Regions from separate parts of the Homo sapiens genome. Here regions 2, 3 and 4 are each linked to region 1. The links are contacts of gene promoters, found by promoter capture Hi-C in blood cells and fetal thymus (Javierre and others, 2016). All regions are on one chromosome and are shown on one strand. The core of a region is centred on a gene start or on the middle of the fragment in contact, and the rest is flanking DNA. Distances in the headings are between cores, read along the strand shown.

The links. The method cuts DNA at HindIII sites, captures the fragments that hold promoters and counts their contacts. A CHiCAGO score of 5 or more calls a contact.
Region 2: a contact is called between a fragment that was not itself captured here and the fragment with the promoter of NTNG2 in region 1, in 4 of 17 cell types (endothelial precursors, M1 macrophages, M2 macrophages and 1 more). The highest score is 8.4, in endothelial precursors.
Region 3: a fragment that was not itself captured here is called in contact with the fragment with the promoter of NTNG2 in region 1 in 4 of 17 cell types (endothelial precursors, M1 macrophages, M2 macrophages and 1 more); the score reaches 7.2 in endothelial precursors.
Region 4: a fragment that was not itself captured here is called in contact with the fragment with the promoter of NTNG2 in region 1 in 1 of 17 cell types (endothelial precursors); the score reaches 6.6 in endothelial precursors.

The regions. Positions count from the first base shown.
Region 1 is chr9:132,160,415-132,163,807 of GRCh38, reverse strand. It overlaps NTNG2 (netrin G2), which reads right to left and starts at 1,750. Exons shown (of 8, transcript NM_032536.4): 1 at 1,569-1,750. LOC124902291 (a long non-coding RNA gene) reads left to right here and starts at 2,108. Exons shown (of 2, transcript XR_007061826.1): 1 at 2,108-2,192; 2 at 3,205-3,350. The HindIII fragment of the contact is 8,295 bases long and covers 1-3,393 here.
Region 2 is chr9:131,810,329-131,813,721 of GRCh38, reverse strand. No RefSeq gene overlaps it. Among named protein-coding and RNA genes, the nearest start is that of RAPGEF1, 72 kb to the right of the region's middle. RefSeq lists an enhancer at 1-32. The HindIII fragment of the contact is 6,192 bases long and covers 1-3,393 here.
Region 3 is chr9:131,828,638-131,832,030 of GRCh38, reverse strand. No RefSeq gene overlaps it. Among named protein-coding and RNA genes, the nearest start is that of RAPGEF1, 90 kb to the right of the region's middle. The HindIII fragment of the contact is 6,586 bases long and covers 1-3,393 here.
Region 4 is chr9:131,869,327-131,872,719 of GRCh38, reverse strand. All of the region lies in intron 6 of MED27 (mediator complex subunit 27), which reads left to right. Among named protein-coding and RNA genes, the nearest start is that of RAPGEF1, 130 kb to the right of the region's middle. The HindIII fragment of the contact is 479 bases long and covers 1,424-1,902 here.

The DNA.
Region 1 (3,393 bases), core at 501-3,000:
TGAACTCAGATTTCTCTGTCTTATTGAATTAGCGCCTCCCGAGCTGGCTGGGCTCGCCAGCAGGTTCCTCTTGGAGTTGCCTGCTGCGCCCTCGCCGTGTGGGAAACTTGCCGCGGCGGGCGCGGGGCCCCTGGGGGCACGGGAGGGAGGGCGCTGGGGGCTCCCGGGGCTAGGGGGGATACTCAGCCCACCCCGGGGTTCCCTCTCCCTCCTCGGCAGGGGCGGCAGAGGGGGGTGAAATCTGCTTTCAGGGGAGAGTGGCGGTTGCCGGGAGGGAAAGGGAGCTTGGCCGGCGGGGTCACCTTCCCGTCCTCTGCCCCGGGCGGGGTCCAGCGGGCGCCCCGCGCTCACTGTAGCCTCGGCGGGCCTCTTAATTCCGGCGGCCCGGGTGTCCCCCCGCTCCGGAGCGGGCCCTTTATCCGGCCCCTGGGTCCCCGCCCGCGGGAGCCCTGGAAAGTTGGGCGCGGGAGGCGGGGCGCGAGCAGCAGCTCCCGGGTGGGTCCCGGCGGGCCGCGGGCGGGGTCGAGGCCGGGGCCAGGGTCGAGTCAGTGCTTCGGGCCGGCTGCGAGCCCTGTGCCTAGGACACCGACGACCCGGCAGCCCCGCAGCTGCTTTTCGTCTTCCCAAAGTTGCGTGCAAGCCACGGCAGCAATTAATAATTAAGCCCGTAATAAAGGCCCGGCCGGGACTGAGGCGCCCCCTTTTTCGGCACTGCCTCTCTTAATTAAAAGACACAGAGCAGGGCGCCCAGGAACTGGCTGTATCCTTTGCCCCGGCGCTGCCGCCTGTGGCGACCCGGCCGCCGCCGCCCCCAGCCCAGACGGCCAACTTACTCCGGAGCGGGCGGACCCCGCGAGCCCGCGGTCCTCTCTTCCCGCCTTCCCGCCGCCTCTGCTCCCCCCACCTGCGCGCCGCTCAGTTCCAGGTTCGACTCCACGCCGGCCCCAAACCAGTGCCTGCGCCCCCTCACCTCCCGACCCCCTCCCGGCGCCGGGAGAAGTTTCCAGCCGGACTGGCCGGGAGTTTCTCTGTGCAACTCACAGGCTCCCAGTTTGCAGAGAGATGGGAGGGCACGGGATGGGGGTGGCTCTAAGCGGTGGCGGTGGAATTGGGGTGGGGGAGAGGCGCGGGAGCAGGGTTAGTTTCCTTTTCCGAGACACATCCGAGCATCCTTGCAACATCCCTCCCCGACACACACACACACACACACACACACACACACACACACACACACACACTCTGTCTCTCTCTCACACACACACACACACACACTCTCACACACACGACGGAAAGGACCCGGGGGAAGCTGGCCAGAAAGACAAGCTACCCCTTTAAGATGCTGCTAAGAACGCACCCTCACACACCCCTCTGGGGCGACTCCAGTTCTCAGCTCGTAGCAGCCGCCACCAAACAACTTTTGCATCCGAGCCTTTGCCGGGCCGCTGTAAGTGGCTCCCGGGCCCGGGCAAGCCTGCATGGTCACCGAAGCCCTTTAAAAATGAAACCGGCCTGGCCAAGCTGCAGCCTCTCCCCCCGCCCGCCTCCCGGGCTCTCCCCGCCCGCCTTACCCCGGCTCGGAGCGGCTTCCCGGCGCGGAGACCTGGGAGGGCCGAGGACCGCCACCCTCCGGCGCTGCGCCTCCCCCCTCGGGCTGGCGCTGGGTGGGGGCGCGGGCCGAGGGCTGCGAGCCGCTGCTCCTTCCCCGCGCCGCTCCCGCCGCTGTGGCCGCCGCCGCCGCCGCCGTCAGATCGGGGCCAGGGAGCCCTCCGGCCGCCGGGGGGGCCGCCCGCAGCCGTCCCGGAGACGCGGGCCGGGGGAGGGGGCCGCCCGCGCCGCCCGCATCGCCCGCCCGGGCTGAGCGGGAGGTCGCCGCTAACAAGTGCAAACTTTTTGGCCCCCCTGGGCGGCCCGGGGAGGACCCGCGCTCGGGCGCCGGGCAGCCCCCGGCCCGGGTGGGCTTCGCGGCGTCTCGTCGGGGAGCCGGGGCATCCCCCCGGCGCGGCGCGGGCCAGATGGCGGGCGCTTCACTGCCCCCCTGCACTCCGCTCCAAGTTAATGCCGAGGCTAAATCCTCTTGCCATCACTCACGATCACCATCGGGGCTTTTATCTCTCGGTCTGATCCGGGCTGCGTAACTTCCTCTGTGTGGCTTTAACACACCATCCCACCACGGAGCAACGGTCTTCTTAAAGGTGCAGGAAGGAAATATTGCGCGGCTCGGGGGACGCGCCACGGCCCGGGGAGGGGCGCGGCGAGCAGGGGCGTCCCGGCGGGCCCGTGGCCAGGGTGGCCCCGGCAGCCTCTGGGGGGTCGCTGCCTAAACATCGCCTCCCGGCCCGGGGGCCAGCGGGTCCCTGCGCCCAGAGCGCATCCTCAGCCGGCTCCGGTCAGGCGCAGCCGGGCTGCAGCTTCCTCTTCCAAAACCCGGGGGCCTGCCGGGGTGCCAGCGCCCATGGGTGTGGGGGCTGCCCCATCGGCACGAGGGAGGGGGGCCAAGTGAGTCAGTTCCCCCACCCCCCACAGCCAAGGGCTCAGGGCTGCTCCTCGGTCTCTCTCTGTGAAGTGCTGCCACCCAGAAGGCCCCAAGCAGTGGGTACCGGGGTGGGTGGGTGGATTTGGGGAGATGGGGAGGGGGAGCGATCTGAGCGCACAACCAGAGCCTGAATACCAGCTGACACATCGCCGCCTCCACCCTGATGGGCCCTGCTTTTGACGAAGCCAAGCCAGCTCTGCAGGGAGTGCAGAGTAGTGGGGCAGGAGGGGCCTGGCTGAGGGGTTCTCTGTCTCCCTCCCCTGCAAGCATGGGAGGCAGGTGTGGGAGGGCTCCGGTAGCAGCAGCCCCGGGCAGAGGCCACCGAGTTCACAATATCATATCCGGCAGCCCTGGGCTCTCTGATCCCCAGGAGGTTTCCTGCCAGCCTGCCTCCCAGGGCTTCTGGGAGAGTTTCCACATCTTCCAGAAGCACATGTGGTTTTCGGACACTCCTGGCCTCCTGGGGTGGGCTCACTGCAGCCTTGAGCAGCCAGCACTGTCATTTGGATGCATCAAGAACAAAGGGCCTGAGGACAGACAGAGAGAGAGGCAGAGAGAGAGAGACCAGCCCAAGGTCACAGAGGGTGTTGGGAATGGAGCAAGACATGGCACCTCAGTGCCCCGCCCTGCTGCCACCCTTCACCTCCACCTTAACCCTTCCCTGTTCTCAGCTGCCCTGAAAACTGGAGACGGAGTTATACTGCTGAATAATATTTGGAATCTTGTGACAAAACAGGAAGAGGATGCAGAATTAAAGACTGTCATCTGCTGTAATAATAATAATAATATATTTATTGAACACCTGTTTTATGCCAGACTCCATGCAAACCAGTTTGTGTGCATTATTCACTGAATCTTCG
Region 2 (3,393 bases), core at 361-2,860, 350 kb after region 1:
TTGGGAGGCCAAGGCGGGCAGATCACCTCAGGTCAGGAGTTCAAGACCAGCCTGGCTAACATGGTGAAACCCCGTCTCTACTAAAAATACAAAAACTAGCTGGGTATGATGGCACACATCTGTAATCCTAACTATTCAGGAGGCTGAGGTAGGACAATGGCTCGAACCTGGGAGGCGGAGGTTGCGGTGAGCTGAGGTCTTGCCACTGCACTCCAGCCTGGGTGACAGAGTGAGACTCCGTCTCAAACAACGGCAGGACCTGTGACGCCCTGAACTCTTGCCATGGGTCAGCCCTGTGCTGCAGGAAGAGCCCACGTAATCCCCAGCACACCCCTGGGAGGTGGGAATTACCACTGATTATTACCCACATGTTACAGACCAGGAAGCTCAGAGAGGTCAGGAGACCCAGCCAAGGTCACACCGCTAGGCAGTGGAGAAGCTGGGACTGAACGCCTCATCGCATGGTCTGGCTACCTCCTCCTGCCACCTCATCCTTTGTCAGAGGCCAGTGACTCACGGGCAGAGCAGCCCCAGCCTCAAAATCTCAATGCCTGAAATATCACCATCATTGCCTGATATCTTTGGCCGAAGCCTACTCTTTAATGAATACCGCCTCCCACTGGGGAGAACCCACTGTGTGCCTCAACTCTTCTGTGGGAAGGAGTTTGAAATCCGTTCCCAAAACTAGGGAGAGACTTCTGCTTCTACAATGGAGGGGACAGAGCACTTCAGGGGAAAAGCAGCTGGTACAGGGAACAGAGAAGGGAACTAGCGTTATTAAGGACTTATTTTGTGCCAGGCAATTTTATAAACATCTTCTCGTTGCATCCAGCAGGAATTCTTATCTCCACTTTACAGATGAGGGTTGGGGAAACTGAGTCTCCAGTGCTGTGAGCCACTGGACACAGTGCGGCTGGTTAACGTGCAGCTGGGTATCTTATCGGGGTCTGATGAGGGGAAAAGGGCAGTCTTGCGGAAGCTCAGGGCAGGTGCCGGCAGCCCGGGCACAGGGAGGGCTTGACGTCCTGTGGGGACTCCAGTCCTCCTCGTTCTTCCTGAAGGCTGTACTGGCTGTGGACAGAGAGTGGCCAGAGGGGAGCAGAGGCAGCTCCTCGCAGAGGTCACCAGGCTGGAGCGGAGCCGCTGCTGCCAACCGTGCCTGCAGCCCGTGGCCCGAACGCCTTCCAGGTCTCTGCAGGGCCTCACCCGCCCTGCCAGCTCCGGGCAGCTGCTGCTTTGGGGCAGCCAGGGAAAATTCCTCACCTGACCCCTAGCCAGAGATGAGAGGTGTCCAGGCCTCAGAACCGCTGCCCTGCCTCCCCCACCACCGGCCACTAAGCACCCCCTGTGCCAGGATCTGTGCCAAGGGCTCTGTGTGCTGTGTCATCTCAGCGACTCCTCCCCCTGCCCTGTCCAAGGAATAGGTGACAACACCTGCTCGGAGAGCTAACTCAGCTTTCTCAAGGTCCCCGCTAAGCCAGCCAATGGCGCCAGAGTGAAAATGTGAATTCAGGCTGGGTCTGGAAACCCTCTCTAAACTGCTGAATTCCAAGTCAGGGACTCTGGCCTCGTGAGAAGCAGTCGCCTTTTCCATGCCAGTGTCCTGAACTTTTCGGGGTCACTCTCAGGTGAGAACAGTTTCGTGGGAGCCTCTATGAGCCAAGCCTTGTGCTGGGCTCAGGGTAAAACAGTGACAAAGGGGGACGACATCCCTGTTCCAGTGGGTCCTACAGTCAGGTGGGGCAGACGAGGCATGAATCAAGCAATCTTAGAGAGACCGGGTGGCATTCAAGGCTCAAAGCTCGCCCTGAGGGAAAGGGGTGAGCATTGGTGACAACCCAGGATGAAGCAGCGTGGACCGGCCCCGGGGTCAGGGAGGGCTGGGGTTGACATCCGATCCCCAGGGTGTCCATAGAGAGAGGCCAGCAGCTGAGGTAAGGGAGGAGAGAGCACTGTGCAGAAAGGACTGTGAGTGCAAAGGCCCTCGGGGTTGGAGGCAGAGCACGGAGGGCTCCGGGAACCAGGTCAGAGTGGCTCCAGACAGGGAGGCATGAGATGAGGCTATGATGGAACGTGGTGAGGATGGCGGGCCTGATCCTAAAAACATTGGAATTTATTGGCAATTGGCCAGGCGCAGTGGCTCATGCCTGTAATCTCGGCACTTTGGAGGCCAAGGCGGGCGGATCACCTGAGGTCAGGAGTTCGAGACCATCCTGGCCAACATGGTGAAACCCTATCTCTACTAAAAAATACAAAAACATTAGCTGGGCATGGTGGCAGGAGACTGTAATCCCCGCTACTTGGGAGTCTGAGGCAGGAGAATCGCTTGAACCTGAGAGCCAGAGGTTGCAGTGAGCTGAGATTGTGCCACTGCACTCCAGCCTGGGCAACAGAGCAGGACTCCATCTCAAAAAAAAAAAAAAGAAAAAAGAAAAACAGAATTTATGGGCTATTGCATGTGGGGAGGCGTTGACATGATAAGCACATTCATTAATAGCTACATGTTCTGCCCAGTGCTTCTCCTGCACTAAATGGCCCCAAAATGCACGGTCCCATACCCACCTCCTTTTTTGTTTTGTTCTGTTTTGTTTTGTTTTAGAGATGAATATTCACTATGTTGCCCGCCTCAGCCTCCCAAAATGCTAGGATTACCAGTGTGAGCCACTACATCCAGCCCTCATTTATTTTGTTGACAGCTGTTGTCTCTTTGCTACCAAGGGTCCACCCCTAACAGGAGCAGGTGCCTGCTCAAGAGCTCGTCTGCTCTGCTGCGGGCTGGCTGCAGACACCTTCGTTTCTCCTCATAGCTGTAACAGTCCTGTCTGAGCAAAGTGCACAGGTTTTACAGCAACTCTTCCCACCCTACCCTCAAGGGATTTTGCTTACTCTTTTGCTGCATCTGGCCTCTGGGTGGCACTTGCCCTGCTGAGCCTCACGCTGTCACCCCTCTCCTAGGAGAAGCAGGTGATGGCCCAGGAAGCCTAATCCCAGTGACACACAGGCCACCCACCCTCCGTCCTGCCCACACCTCCGGCAGCTCCAGCTCATTCAGCCTCAGGGAATCCCGGGGCCTTGTCCCATGCAACCGGCCAGCTGTGGTGTGAGCGAGGGACTGAAAGCCCGTATGTGACCAGCTCTGGTGATGAGATCCCCCTGCCCCCGCCTGGCACATGTTCATTCATTCCAGGTACGGTCAGCACTGAGTCCTCGAGGGCCTGGAGCACCGCGGGGGAGACATCCCGGTCAAGCTGAGTTTCCCCGACGCCTGGCCAAGCACTGAGACCCAGAGTGCGGTGGGCTCCAGCGATGAACAGCCTGGGGAACGACGTCTTTGCTCTGTGTAGCTGGGCTCCATCTCCTTGCAGCTTGCCACCTCCTGGTCCTAATTCAAGC
Region 3 (3,393 bases), core at 662-3,161, 330 kb after region 1:
TCTGCCTTCATGGTGCAAAAGCAACCATAGACAATAGATACACAGTGAATGGGGCTATGTGCCAATAAAACTTTATAGACACTGAAATGTTAATTACATAAAATTTTCACATTTCAAGACATACCATTCTTCGTTTGATTGTTATCAAATGTAAAACCCATTGTTAGCTTGTGGGCTGTACAGAAAGCAGGCAGCGGGCTGGATCAGGCCCATAAGCTGTAGTTCGCCAACGCTAGTCTTAGTGCAGAAGGGCCAAGGGTGTCCTGTGGTTTGGTCATTCAGCTCCTGAACCTACTTCCGGGCCTGCGGAGACCTCTCCTTCTGAGGCAGAGCCCGCCTTCTGCTGTCACAGCCAAACGTGGCCAATGTGCACATGTATCCCAGACGGCCATTGGCAGCCGCTGCCCCCGCCTCCACCAAGGCACGTGCTGGGAACCAGGGACCGAGGGGAACCGTTCTGGGATGGGTGGCGACCCTGGACACCAAGGCACATGGCGGTGCCCGAGGGGTGGTGCTGCCTGGTGGCAGCGGAGGGGAGAAACCCCCACACAGCTCAGGCCGGGCAGCGATGGCAGTGGTGTCTTCACCAACCACTTCCGCTGGAGCCCATTCTTCCCTCCCAGCCTCACGGGCTCCGAGCTGGGTCCTCTGGCCTCCAGAGGTTCTGGGAGTCCCAGTGCCCTTGGAATGAATTCATTTTCTGCTTAAATCAGCTGGAAACTATTTCCGTGGCCTACAAATAAGAGCCCTGTCAGTTGTTGGAATTTCTCTTCGTGCTTTTCTCTAGTGAATTTCCAGGGCAGAAAAATGGGCTATAACGTTCTTCTTTTAATAAGTTGTTTTTAAAAAACTATTACATCAATAATACATGTTCACTATTTTAAAAAGCAAGAAATAAAGAATAATACAAAGAAGAAATAAAAATTTTTCAGCACCCAGAGATAATAAGCACAATTACTATTTTGAGGTAAACCCTTTCAGAGACAGATACAGATTTTTTTTATTACAAGAAAATGGGATGATATTATATGCCATCTTCTGACTGGCTCTTTTACTTGCTGGCATATCATGAGCTTCTTTTAATGTCAATAAGCATATGTTTACATCTTTTTTGGGGGGGTTGGGACACAGTCTTACTCTGTCGCCCAGGCTGGAGTGCAGTGGCACAATCTTGGCTCACTGCAACCTCCACCTCCTGGGTTCAAGCAATTCTCCTGCCTCAGCCTCCAGAGTAACTGGGATTACAGGCATCCTCCACCACGCTCGGCTAATTTTTGTATTTTTAGTAGAGATGGGGTTTCACCATGTTGGCCAGGCTGGTCTTAAACTCCTGACCTCAGGTGATCCGCCCGCCTCGGCCTCCCAAACTGTTGGGATTACAGGCGTGAGCCACTGCGCCCGGCCTACATCTTTTTAAATAAATGCCTACGCCATCAAATAATTTTTCTGCATCGATAAAGATGATCATATGATTTTTCTTTTTTTAAATTTTTTATATAGAGACAAGATCTCACTATGTTGCCCAAACTGGCCTTAAACTCCTGGCCTCAACTGATCCTCCCACTTCAGCCTCCCAAAGTTCTGGGGTTACAGGAGTGAACCACTGCACCTAGCCAATTTTTCTTTTTATTATGTTTTTTGTTTTTTATTTTTTTATTGAGACAAGGTCTCACTATCACCCAGACTAGAGTGCAGTGGCATAAACACAGCTTACTGCAGCCTCAAACTCCTGGGCTCAAGTGATTCTCCTGCCTCAGCCTCCCAAGTAACTAGGACTATGGGTGTGCACCACCATGTCCAGCTAAGTTTTTTTTTATTTTTAGTAAAGGCAGGGTCTCACTATGTTTCCCAGGCTGCTCTCCAACCTGGAGGGTTCAAGCAATCCTCCCACCTCGGCCTCCCAAAGTGTTAGGATTATAGGCGTGAGCCTCTGACCCTGGTCTGTGATTTTTTTTTTTTTCTTTTTTGAGACAAAGTCTCATTCTGTCACCCAGGCTGAAGTGCAGTGGTGCGATCTTGGGTCACTACAACCTCCGCCTCCCAGGTTCCAGCGATTCTCCTGCCTCAGCCTCCCAAGTAGCTGGGATTACAGGCATCTACCACCACACCCAGCTAATTTTTTTGTATAGTAGAGACGGGGTTTCACCATGTTGGCCAGGCTGGTCTCAAACTCCTGACCTCTAGTGATCCTCCCGCCTCAGCCTCCCAAAGTGCTGGGATTACAGGCATGAGCCACTATGCCCGGCCATGTGATTGATTTTTGACTGTTAAGCCAACCTTGCATTTTGAAATAAATCCCACTTGGTTGTGATATTGTTTTATTTGACTTGCTAATATTTTTTAAGGATTTTCACATCCATTTTCATGGGAAGAGTTGACCCATGATGTTTCTTTGTTGTAATGTCTTCATCAGAATTTAGCATTAAAGTTTTGCTAGACTCATAACATGAGTTAGACAGTGTTCCTGCTTTCTGTCTTCTCTGGGAGATTTGATGTAAGACTGGGATCCTTTCTTCCTTCAGTGTTTGGTGGAATTCACCAGGGAAGTCATCTAGGCCTGGAGTTTTCTTTGCCCGATCGTTCCTAATTTGGGGCTCAATTTCCTTAATGGATATGTTTTTTTTTTCTTGTGACAGCTTTGGTAAGTTGTGTTTTTAAAATACTTTGCCTATTTCCTTTAATTCTCAAATGTATCCACATAAGCTGCTCTGCTCTCTTCGTCCATTCTGTTTAAACATTAGACCTCTGTATGATTACAAGAGGTTTCTGTATGATTAGAGGTTTACGCACTGTATGCCTGTATCATACAGTGCATAGTATGCCTGTATCATACAGTATCTAGCCCTCACCAAAGTATATCAGCATGTCTTTTGTATGTGTCTGTCTTTGTCATCTCCTCTGCCCCCCACTGAACTGTGAACTCCCCACCCCCAGGCGTAGGGACCAGATGGAACTCACTGCCCAGACAGGACACATCTAGGCACCATTGAACTGAGGCCAGAGTGAACGGTCGCACTTCAGAATTTCAGGGGCAGCTCCCACTGGCTGCTGACTGCTTTAAATGGGCCTCAGATCACTTTGAAATGGAGCTTTCAGATGCCGTTTGCATGGAAACATCTAAGAGCTCCCCAGGTCCACCAAGCCAGAGAAAGTCATTGATAGATTAGTTTGAATGAGGATTAATCAATAATTTATGCTGATGTTTTTCCTCATACAGCAAAGAGGCCTTTTTTTTATATGATTTGACAGGGTCAGGCACACCTTGGTTTAATTAAACCTCATACAGAAAATTAAAAAAAAAAAAATGCCTACCAACCCCTGGGTGATTGGTTACCAAAGATGGACTCAACCTGCAATCGATGAGGAGGGACGGAGGAGCAGACCGGGCTGTTG
Region 4 (3,393 bases), core at 414-2,913, 290 kb after region 1:
AGCATCTGCTGAAAACCTAGACCTAGAGGGGCCTGCAGAATCACCCAGCCCCACCCCAGCCTCCCCACGCTCTTCTACCGAGGGCCAGCAGGGAAGAGGCCCCCCAGGCCATTCGCCACTAAGCTAGGGTCAAACCCCGGTCTCCTTACGGTTCCCCTCTGTCTGCCTTTTTGTCACTTTCACCCAGATCTAAGAGAATCTTCTCTTCACAGTACGTAGAAGCCGATATTGGCTGGAGGGAAGCCACAGTCTGGGTCCCTACCAGGCTTCTCTTTTAAATAAGCAACTTCTAAACACTTGAGTACTTAACTTTCCCTGTTTACTAATCTTGTGAGGAAATACTCCGAATAGTAGAGGCGCCCGCTCTTCTAGCTTGGCCTCGGGGGCTGTGTGCTGGCAGATAATGCCCTCAGCAGGTGCGTTAGGAAGAGCGTCTCTGTTCAAGCTCAGCTCCCCCAGGCGCTGCTCGGCCACAGTCCTGTCCCCTGGTGGTGGGAAGCAGGCAGTGGCCCGCAGCGGCCCTTGAACCTGCACCCAAAATCATCTCAGGGAGCCTGTGAACTCCTGGGTCCTGGTCCCCAGCCTGGTCCACCAGCCAGGAGCTGGAAGGCGGTTCCCAGCAGTCAGCCTCCAGCGTCTGTTCCTCACCTGCATGCTGCGTCGCCAGCCTCCACTCCGGCCCAGGAGCATGCCCCCTGGGGCCAGATGATGCCCATGACCTTTGGGCACTCGGGAGCCCCTGAGGACAATCCCTGGATCACTGAGAAATACAAGGGCCCCTGTTTTAGAATGCCTGGCAGGAACTGTAAGTTTCCATTTAAATCAAATCAAATACCCCAAGTTGAAAGTATTCAGAAAATTCGGAGGAAAAAAGATAGGAAAGAGGTGCAAGGTTGGCCCATAACCCCAGCACTTTGGGAGGCAGGAGGATCATTTGAGCCTAGGAGTTCAAGACCAGCTTGGACAACATGGCAAGACCTCGTCTTTACTAAAAATTAAAAAACTAGCCAGGCGTGGGGGTGTGTGTCTGTAGTCCCAGCTATTTGAGAGACTGAGGCAGGAGGATCACTTGCGCCCAGGAGTTCGAGGCTGCGGTGTGCTGTGATCAGACCACCACACTCCAGCATGGGTGACAAGTACAAGGTCACCCCTGAAACAGAGGACAAGGGTCTTGCTGTGAATGGTGCCGTTGTTCCTGTACCAGGCTGGTGACTGGCATTGCCATCTTCTTAACTTTTCCCCTTCAAGGAGCCCAACAGGCCCTTGCTTTTTAAAGAGGAAACTGCTGAGGACAATAGTGTATTAAGAGGGTTTTTCTCCCCAGTCCTTTCTGTGTCATTACAGTGTCCTTTATTCTTCCCTTACTGCTACAGAACAAACCTCTATCTGGTCAACATAAAACCTGGAATCTGGGAGTTAAGCTTAAGTGAGAAATCATCTTGCTAGGCCTAAACCTGTTATCTTTGCCCCCACCGCAGGAGAGGGCCTGAGTAGGAAAAAGCGTGTGGGTGCTGCATACCGAATGTGGGGTGTATGGTAGGGTGAGCACCGAATCCGGGGCGTACAGCAGGACGCACACCTGGATCCAGGGCTCACAGTAGGATGCACACTGAATCCCGGGCACACAGTGGGATGCACACTGAATCTGGGGTCCACAGTAGGACCATCCCACTCTCCCCGCCCTGCACCTTTTCTCACACTACACTTTTTCATTCCCTCGATGAATGTGTGGGCATGCCCACCTGATGCAGCCGCCTTGTATTTGCCCGATTTCCCCTTCTTTGTCCACAGCAGGGAGACTCATTCAATCTGGAGGTCTTCTTGAGGGCCCACCGGTGTCTCTGTCAGACCGTTTGGAGGGTTGGGGCCAGCACATAGCAGGGAGCCAGACAGGTTGAAGCTTCTGGCTGAGAGGTGGAAGGAACATTGTATAAGTGACAGGAACTGGGGTGTAAGTGAGGAGACTTGTTATCCAATCCCATCTCCACCCTCAAAGTGCTGAGGTCCAGTCCCTTCTGGGGAGGAGAGGGCCTGGAAATGGCACTTTTCTTCATCCCCCCACAACCCCTGTCCACCCCAAGAGGCCTGGAGTGGGGGGCCCATGAGGCTTGGGGCATAGAGTCTGGGCACTCAAGCTGGGGTTCAGAAGGTCGGAACAAACTCCTGCTGTGCCACCTAGCAGCTCCTTGGCTTGGGCAAGTCACTTAACCTCCCTGTGACTTAGCCCCCTGACTTAGAAGTCCCAAACGTGAGAGTACCTCTGTCATAAGGTCATCGTGGGGATTCAGCGGGCTAAAACCACGAGGGGACACATTTGGCGGGCGCTTGCCATGCGTCGTACACTTGAGGTCTGTATGTCAGTGCACTGTCCCTGCATCGGCCCATTTAATCCTCGCCCAAGGTCACACAGCTCACAAGGGACAGATCCAGAGGCTGGGCTCCTGTTGGAGGAGCCACACACCCTGAGCTGTGCAGCGTAGACCAGCTCTTGCACAGGATTAGTGCTCAGTAAATGGCGATGTGGGTTGTTGCTGTTATTGCAAGCAGTGCCACTCTGGGTTTAGCTAAAATAACTCATGATCTCCAAAGCACCCTCCAGCTCTGATTGTAGGAGGGGGGCTGTCAGGAGCTCCATGCACACAATATGGCAGAGGAGCTTTGGGAGACTGTTTTGACTGGCATCTCCTTTTCCAGCACGTTGACTGGCAGCTGTTTCAAGGTCTCTTGAAAGAGTCCCTACTCCCTCCCTAAGCTCCATTCTCTCCTGGGTTTGGATATGCTGAGAGAGGGTAGGGAAAACTGAAAGGAACATTGATCAAGTGGACTGGATCTGTTGGCAGGCAATGGAGATGTCACCCTTCTCAAAGTAAATCACTGCAGGTCACCATTGAGACGGGACACACCCCAAATGAGGCATCTGAGACTTCTCTGCCTTGGGGTGAACCAGGCGCCTCCCAGTGAAACCCCTCCCTGCATCACCCTCTGCCCCTCTTTGTGAGGCCTGTCTCCCCATCCCCGCATTCCTCTTGCTTCAGGGACCCCTGCCTCACTGGTTTATTGCTACCCTCCTGCCTTCTCCTCCCTCCCTTTCCTTGGGCTTGCATCCCTTTGATGTTTTTACAAGCCTTTTTTCAAACCTGCACTCACTGGTGGGTGAATCGCCTCCCTCTCCTTGGGAGCATTAGTGCCCTTCCTGGCCTCCGCCAAGGGGGAGGGCGGCTTTTATCTCCCAGCGGAATCTCATTAGCTTTGCCGCACAATGGGACCGAACCTCGGCTGCCACAGAGTGGATTTAAATTAGTTAATAGCAGATTTTTTTTTTTTTTTTGCCCCAGGCCTGTTTTTTCCAAGTCTTGGATGCTGAGCAAAAAAACAACTTTGTTGTTGAAAAAT